3 separate regions of the Homo sapiens genome follow, and regions 1 and 3 are each linked to region 2. Evidence: promoter capture Hi-C in human tissues and cell types (Jung and others, 2019). All regions are on one chromosome and are shown on one strand. Each heading gives the region's core, a stretch centred on a gene start or on the middle of the fragment in contact. The rest is flanking DNA. Distances are from core to core; before and after follow the strand shown.

Region 1 (2,700 bases), core at 128-2,627, 120 kb after region 2:
GCATGGCAATTCAGATGATGTGAGTTTTGAAGACACTCCTCAATGGTAAAGCGTGTTAGTAGGCTATCCCAGAAGACTCGAGTTCTAGCCATTCTCTGAAAGATGACCACTAATCTAGGGCCTGGAGAGACATAAGATGAGGGGTACGAAAGTGTTCAAAAGCATTTGCCATGCCTCCTCATGGCAACCTAAACTTAAACATGATCATAGGAGGGTGAAGGCATATTCAGTCACACGTAAAACTGCACCATAAATGAAGTAAGATGAACAGACAGGTAAGCAGGTGACTGTTCTCTGCTCATTGACAGCACCATGTGAACAACAGGCTCATGGACACCATGGTATCAATGATCAAGGCCCACACACCTGAACGCAGAGTGAAAGCCTTGTTGACAGGCCATAACAAGCAGAAAACTTGAGAAACCCATCAGCAAGTTCCATAATATAAATATAAATCTTCATTCGGAAAGACAGACTAATGCTGTAGCTACTGGAATCAAGGGCAAGCTGTTCAGAAGAGAGCCATCTGCTCTGGTTCCGCTTATGACAAGAGCCATCCCAGGCTCTAAGAAGCACAGGGACAAGTCAGGGATGACACGGGGGTGGCGGGGGTGCACAGTGTGCCACAGAGCCAACAAACCAGTCCCCCGCTGCCTTGGCAACATTAGTGGATCATAAGCCACTCAGGAAGTTGGACATGATTTAACTCATTTCTCCTTTTTTTCACTTCTTCTGATAAGTAATAATATGTGCAATATACACAATTTTTACAAAATACAAAAATGTTAAGAAGAAACATATCCATACTGCATTCCTAAAAATAGTCACTGTTTACATTTCCTTAATCTGCTTCCCGTGCATTTGCATTTTCTAAATGGTTAACATCAGTTAACAACCACCCAGAAGGTCATCCAGTGCCCCATAATGCTAACAGTGTAGCTGTCACTGAAACAAGAATTTCTTAAATGTCATTTAATATCTAGCCCTTCTGAAAAAAAAAAAAAAAAACAGAAAAGTTTATACTAAAAAATAATGACCTGGTTTCATTCCACACACATATCTCGTTGTATTCTTACTCTTTCACCATAAGCAGTCCTTAATCCATGTAATTAGTTTCTTCAGCTCAAATATAGAAAAATGAGGTCTGAAACAAAACATCCCCTGAGAAAGCAGAGGAGACTTCAAAACTATCTTTACAGACCTTGGTTGGTGCTTCCAACTGTGCAAATATTGCTATAACGTGAAGCAACCTGCAGTTCCTATGAATCAAACATTTACTGAGTGTCTACTACGTGCCAGCACCATTACTGTGAAGGTAATAAAAATTAAACATGGCCCCTGCCCTTTGCAACGTCAACATCTAGAAGGGAAGACACATATATACAGAGGTAACTAATTCAAGAACAGTCTGTGATCTGTAACACAGGGACACAAAGGAAAATGGGGGAAAGTCAGATTAATTCTATAAATTAGCATTTATGCCACTGAATTTTAAACTGATAAACTGCTAGAAACAATATAATCTGGGTAAGAAAAATGACAATCTGGGGAAAAACAGTGGGCACTGAAGCACCTGTCAATTAGCTGTCTCATATAAACACAATATATATCTGTGCAATATATATTATACTACAATATATCAGGAGGCATATTTTGCTAAGTGAAGATTTAAGCAAACAGATTTTTCCTAGAGTGAATGAGCCCTGTAACCCACCTGTTTCCTGAATTCCACCAAAACATGGGTCTCACTTACCTGTCACAGTGAGAACTGCCTCTGGAACTACTCTGTCCTGATTCATGTTGTGCATCCAAAAGAATCTTCTCCATGTCTCCATTGTGGATGGAGGATGAGGATGGTACGTGTTCCAGCCCCCCATTTTTCCCATTGCCATTATCATTGCCATTGCTGCTGTTCATGGGTAGCTCCACCCAGGAACCTGTTGGACAAGTCAGATAAGTTAACCACAGCAGAACTGAAATCTGTCATGTGCACACAGATGTGAACATGGTGAATCCAGATAAGAATTCTGACTCTCCTCAAACCAAATGTAAAAGTATTCTGAAGAAAATAAATAAGAAGTAATAAAAGTCTAAAGATCTATATAGTTCTGTTCCTGAAATAGCTCATGCCATCAACTGAGAAACAGCTCAAACTCTAAAACATCTCAGAAAACGTGTTTTTCAGTCAATTTCTCTCTGGGTAAAGCTTGGTTTATAATAACACTCTACTGAAAACTCAGGTTGCTTTTCAAAAAAAAATTGCTACTTTTAGGCTATTTACCTTTAACATTTTAGTTGGTGTATATATACACACACACTTTCTTCATAGTCTACCTAAGCTGCTCAGCTGTATCTGCTCCAGAAATGAAATAAATATATCACCTACAAATTTCATAAAAGGTCATCTAAGTAAGTTAGCAACTATATCCTACTTAGTGCAAACAACTGAGAAACTCCTAGAGAGGGAACCTAAATCCAATAGCAAAAATTTCAATTTGTGCACAAATCAGGAGCATAAAATTAATGCAGCTGGTTAACTAAATCAGGTAATAATGCTAAAAATTCAGAAAAAAGCTTTATCTCTATCTCACTGATTAGTTTCTTCATTTCCTTTGTATCTCAGGCTTTCTAGTCCTTCTCCTTTTTTATACACTAAACATACCTTGTGAACTTGTCTTTTTTCTTTTCTCTCCCACGGGT
Region 2 (2,700 bases), core at 131-2,630:
CAAGGGCGGTGCGGTGCTCGGAGGGGGTCCGGGGGGCGCTGACCATGGTCCTGGCCTCGGAGCTCGGGACGTGAGCGCAGAAGGCGCGGGCGGAGGCTGTAGGGAGCGGCCGTCCGAACCCCCGCCCCTCCCGACCACCGGGGAGCCGCGGGCCTTCACGCAAAGCCTCCACCGCACGCTCTGAGCCGCTCAAAAAAAGGGTGGGGCACCCAGCCGCAGCTGCAATCGGAAGCCGCCCGGGAGGGTTTCAGAAGAATGGAACCGCGGCCAACCCCCTCCCAGACGACCACCGCCCGCCCCAGCAGGGGATCAGCCCATTCCCTATGCCCACGCCCCACCTCTCAAGCTCAAGGAGACGCGGGCAGCCTTTGTGGGCGCACGGCCGCCCACCGCCCAGCCCGAGCCTCGCCGCACCCTGCGCGGAGAAGGGGCGGGTAGGGCGGGGTGCGCGTGCAGATGCGGGAGGCGAGGTCCAGGGCGGGGCATGAAGGCGGGCGCGCCGGGCTCAGGGGCGAGGGAGGGGCGATCCCCGCGCCCCGTCCTCCGTCTCCACCCCCAACCCCCACACCGACCTGGTCGTTGATGTTCTGCAGGGCTTCTTTGCCCGAGGCCCTCCGGATCTCCACCTTCCGGCCCGATTCAACAGATGGCTCTCCGCCGGCGCGCCGGCCCTGCCGCGAGTACGGCGGCTGCGGGTCCGGGCCCAAGTGGGCGACGTCCCGCTGCTGAGCCACCACCTGCCCCGAGCCCCGGCCCACCGACAGCGAGTCGAAGTCGATGGTCTTGTTCTCCGAGGACCCTTCCACCGGGCAGAACATGCCACAGAATTTCTGCCGGGGCTTGGGGCTGCCGGAGCCCAGGTTTTTAAAAAAAGCAGGGACCTCTTCGTCCTCTGCCGCCTTCCCGGATTGCTTTCTCTCGGCCATGGCTCGGGGGCTCGGGTAGGGTCCTCGCCGTCCGTCCGTCCGTCTGCCAGTCCCTAAGTCTCCCTCGCTGTGTGCACAAGCCCCCTAGCTGCTGCCGCGGCTGCCGTTCGCCGCCCACCGCAAGGTGCACAGAAAGGAAGGAGGGCTGGCGAGCCGGCGACCCACCCTCCCGGTCCCTCCCCCTGACCCCGCTTCTCCCCTCCCTGCCCACGCCCCCCGCGGCTACAGCGCGAGCTCGGGGAAGCGGCAAAGTTGGATCTGGGAGGGCGTCCGCTGCGGCTGCGGGAGCCGAAAGGCTGCCAGTTCCCGGCAGCGCTGGGAGGAGGGAGGCGCGGGCGGGGCGCGGCGCCGGGGAGGGGAGCGGTGCTCAGGGGAGGGCTGGAGGGGAGGGAAGGAGAGAGAGAGGGGAGGGCGGCACCGCCCCTAGCCCCGCGCTCCGGAAGTGAAGCGGCCAGACCACCAGCTAATGGATGCGGAGCGGAGGGCCCGCTGACCGCTCTCCGCGCCTGGGTAAGTATCGGGCAGGGCACGCGGAGTGAGGACCGGAGGACGCAGCCCCCAGCCCCAGTGCCCCTCTCCTCCACCTGCCTGGCCCAGGCGCCTCTGCCCCGCCGCATGGCGGAGGTGGGCCGGGGGCGAGGGCGCACTGTGGATAGGGGTCCCGCCCCGTTACCCTGGGTGTGAGCTGATGGATGGGAAAAGGGGACAAGCCGGGCGCCAGGCTACTCAGGGTGTGGGAAGCGGGATGGCACTGAAGATGAGCAAGGATAGCACAGGCAGGGTGGACAGGAGGGGGGCAGCCAAGACGCTGGACACCCCAGCTTCAGTTTGTCCACTCGCCTTGGCAGGCTGCAGGGAGCAGAGACTGAAACGAGAAGGTTCCCGCTTCGTGCATCCACTTTGGTGTGGTTGGGGTGACGGGGGAGTGGGGGGGGGGCACACAACATGGCGGGAAGAAATTCAGAGGGGCGTAGCAGATGGGAGAGGAATATAGAGAGAGACGCAGGTCTGCGGTCTATGGGGGTGTAGCAAAGAGTGCAGTCGGGAATTCCAGCCCAGGGCCACGACTTAAAGACGGGGTGCAGACCGACTCTATTGCGCAAGGCGCCATGGACCGTGTCTGCGCCACTGCGCCAAGAAGGGCGCAGGAACGTGTCGCGATTTGGTTTATTCTGCTTCCTCCACCAAAAAAAAAAAAAAAAAAAAAAAAAGAGAGAAAAAACAAACTGAAACCCCCTTCCCAAATCTCCAGCTTTCCCCTGCGCCCCAGAGCCCCGCCTGGTTCCCCCGCCCCTGTTGCGCACTGCGCCACAGTCGCAGCGTTTCCCGGGTTACCAGATGCCACGTGTTTGGGGAGTAAGTGCGGGTGCGCATCTGGTGCGGAGTAGGAGGTAGGATGTGGGCTGTGAGTGCCATGAATTGTGTGGGGCCAAGCAGGGGAAAGGTGTGTAGGAACTTGGTGTGTGTGTGCAGTAGCTGAGCCACGGCCACCGGGTTGGTAAGTAACCAGGGGGCAATTAGATTTGTGTGCCTAACACGGTCAATGCTGGTCCTTCATTGCTTATTCCCATCTCCACGTCCTTTCCGCGTATCAGTCCCTGCCTCTGCGCGATGACAGCTCCGCCTCTCTTTCCACAGTGGCAAAATCCTGCAGAAATGGTGCCCCTCCTTTGGTGGCCCGGGAGGGAGTTCTGGGCATGCTCAGTAACCAGGGTGGGTTTGGGCTGAGAGGCCGTTTACCGCAGGGCCACCGCGTAGGGCCGTGTAACCAGGG
Region 3 (2,777 bases), core at 10-2,509, 100 kb after region 2:
ATGTCTTCATTTCCTGTCATCAATGTCTGGGTTTTGTAAACTCCACCTTTCTAAGGCTCACCCTCCCTGAGTGCTTAATTACATTTCCTTCCTCTCCGGGAGGGAGTACGTCCCACTCTTCCATTACTGATCTGCTCCCTCCGTAACGCTAATATCTCCCTTTGCTCTCTCTCCTTAGCCTACACATTGGCCCCTCTATATTCCCAACCTAAGCCAACAATCCTACTATCCTGTCTCCTCTTCAGAAACTCCCCCCTTGTTTTCTTAATCATGAAGTTTATTCAAAAAAGCCAACACTTCTTGCTATTCATTCATTGACCCAACACAATCTTATCCAGGATCCCTCTTTCACTCCTACAGAAAATGCTCTTGCAAAGATCAGCACAGATCTGACTGCCATATTCCAAAGCTTCTCGATTCATCTTACTTAACCACGAAACATGTCAGGCTTGGTCACCTCCTACTTTTGGGGTTTCTGTGATACCAACAATTTCACCTAGAACTTCTCTTCTGCTTAGCCTTCAAATTTTGGGCTTCCCTGTTGTTTGAGTAACTTTCTTCCTTGCCCATTGTCCAATCTTTAAACATCATATAAATATATAATGCATGGGTCTGATTGTGTTTTACTTCCACTCCAGACCCTTCTCCTGGGTTATAGTTCTATTTAATAAGTGTCCAATCAGAAGGCCCTCAGACATTTCATGTTCAACGCACTCAAAACTGAAATCCTCCCTCTTTGCTCCTACCACCCCATTTCTTCTCCTGTCCTCCTTTAACTAATGGGATCAACCCATGTTTTCGGGCCACACACACAAAGGAATACACACGCCTTCGTCTCTAAGTCACTTTCTGACCAGTTTACTTCCGCTTTGTTTCTCATACGTATCCTGGCCCACCACTGCCAACCTCAGGGTGACAGCCCAGGACAGGCCCTAGCTCCTCGCCTAGAGAACTGATTGATCTCCTCTGGTACTCTCTCACCAGATGGCTTGACTGTCTAAAATTTACATCTTAAATCACCTCCTGGTTTAAAAGAAGTAAACCCAGCTAACTATATGATGAAGTGTGACCCCTGGGAGGGCACACACATTTCAATTAGGTTCAGTACTAACCTACATTTTTCAGTTTCCTCTGTATCCATCCTGTTTTCCAGGCACGTGGAACTTCCAGTTCCTTCTGGATCCACTTTCACTGGTGTCCCACTGTCATTTCCATCAGGGCACACTCTTCTTCTCTCCTGTACTTCCTGAGCACTCCTCCCGTGAGCGCCCTCCTGCCACTACCTGGAGGCAAATGCTCTGAATGCCACAGTCCCGAGGCACTCACGAATGCTCACACTGCGGTGACTGTCCCCACAGAACACCGTTCACACCCTGAGCACTGTTAGGAACTCCACTGCTGGGGAAGCCAGATGACTGGAAGGCTGTGTGTAGGCGAGGAGGCCTCATCGCCTGAAACTCCCAGGCAACAGGTGCGACAGAAAAATGATATACTGACAGGAAAAGTTTTGTGAGAGCTTTAATGGCACAAAATGTTTATAGCTACAAGTTATACATGTATTGTAAACTGTATATAACGATACAAAGTGCTAACTAAAATAGATGAAGAATGCATAATCACTTTGGCTCAGTTAATTCCAATAATTTCCACAACGGGTTCATGAAAAAACTTATCTGACTGGCTAAGTCTTCAATTCTCATTTTTTTAGAATAGTAAATATTTTTACTGCAATCACGGGAACTTGTTGCACTTTCCAATGTGCAAGTTTGTGCAGTTTTGCTCTTGATTCTATTTACAAACATCTTGAGCCAGTTTTCATCAAACATATGAAAAATGAAGCCTGCCTTTTTGTCCCCAAATTGTAAACAGGTGTAAAGCTTTTTAAACATTAACCTCACAATTTCAACTATTAATTGTTGAATTCTCCTTTCCAAACCACAATGTTTTCGTTCAACACAAATCTGGGTGTAGCAGTAAAACGTTCATCCCATGTGTTAGGGCTACAGATACATACTACATGCTCTCATAATAAATTCTACTGTGATGATGTATTCACGTTTTAAGTAATTTTCCATAATTTCACTGATGCTTTAAGAAAAAGGGCAACACTATGTTTCTTTTTAACGCTGAAAGAAATCATAAATATACCCAGTTTCAGTGGCACCACTGATAGAACTGCTGCTGAACTTGGAAAGAGCACAATGCACTAGCTGTAAGAAGTCACTTTCAGGTAAAGTGTAATTTTACTTTTCCCCCCTGTAATACCAATTGTAATAGAAATTGCATACTGTAGCAGTTTAGCTAGTCAGTTCTCCTAACTTTCCAGTCTTTCCAATTTTATTCAGGCTTTTCAAAAATCAGTGAGCCATCAGATTTACTTTCTTCCCAAAGAAATTCAAATATGAACACTTGAAATAAATAGGTTATAGAAGGCAAATCAAGTGTTACCAGGTTTAAGAGTAAGACAGAAACATGGTCTAGGAAAAAGATGTCCAAAATTATTTAGACATCAAATGCTAGAAAGAAAAAAGAAAATTACTTTCAAAACTAGGATATATCATCTTTCTTAAAGATAGCCAGCTATATTCTTGAAAAAAGATAAAAATTTTGTTTAATCTATATGTTATTTTCCACTATAACACATCAATTTTACAAATGTTGATGTGAGAAAAGAGTTAGTTTCTGCAAACTGGCAAACCTGTCTGTCATAGTGTTTTTATTCAAGTTGACCTGGTGCACTTTATAGATTGCTAGTTTTAAAATTAACAACGGTTCTC

What was found. The method cuts DNA at HindIII sites, captures the fragments that hold promoters and counts their contacts. A contact is called where the count stands out against the background at its distance.
Region 1: a contact is called between a fragment that was not itself captured here and the fragment with the promoter of PNMA2 in region 2, in 4 of the 25 tissues and cell types used here (dorsolateral prefrontal cortex, hippocampus, liver and 1 more).
Region 3: a fragment that was not itself captured here is called in contact with the fragment with the promoter of PNMA2 in region 2 in 4 of the 25 tissues and cell types used here (IMR-90 fibroblasts, aorta, dorsolateral prefrontal cortex and 1 more).

What each region holds. Positions count from the first base shown.
Region 1 is chr8:26,390,480-26,393,179 of GRCh38, reverse strand. BNIP3L (BCL2 interacting protein 3 like) reads right to left here. Exons shown (of 6, transcript NM_004331.3): 2 at 1,754-1,937. Among named protein-coding and RNA genes, the nearest start is that of BNIP3L, 8.8 kb to the right of the region's middle. RefSeq lists a cis regulatory region at 1,941-1,958 and an enhancer at 1,877-2,021. The HindIII fragment of the contact is 4,436 bases long and covers 1-2,700 here.
Region 2 is chr8:26,512,552-26,515,251 of GRCh38, reverse strand. It overlaps PNMA2 (PNMA family member 2), which reads left to right and starts at 1,380. Exons shown (of 3, transcript NM_007257.6): 1 at 1,380-1,436. DPYSL2 (dihydropyrimidinase like 2) reads right to left here and starts at 1,221. Exons shown (of 14, transcript NM_001197293.3): 1 at 573-1,221. The coding sequence starts at 926. RefSeq lists an enhancer at 2,266-2,700. The HindIII fragment of the contact is 13,621 bases long and covers 1-2,700 here.
Region 3 is chr8:26,411,853-26,414,629 of GRCh38, reverse strand. BNIP3L (BCL2 interacting protein 3 like) reads right to left here. Exons shown (of 6, transcript NM_004331.3): 6 at 1,503-2,777. Among named protein-coding and RNA genes, the nearest start is that of BNIP3L, 30 kb to the right of the region's middle. The HindIII fragment of the contact is 4,202 bases long and covers 1-2,777 here.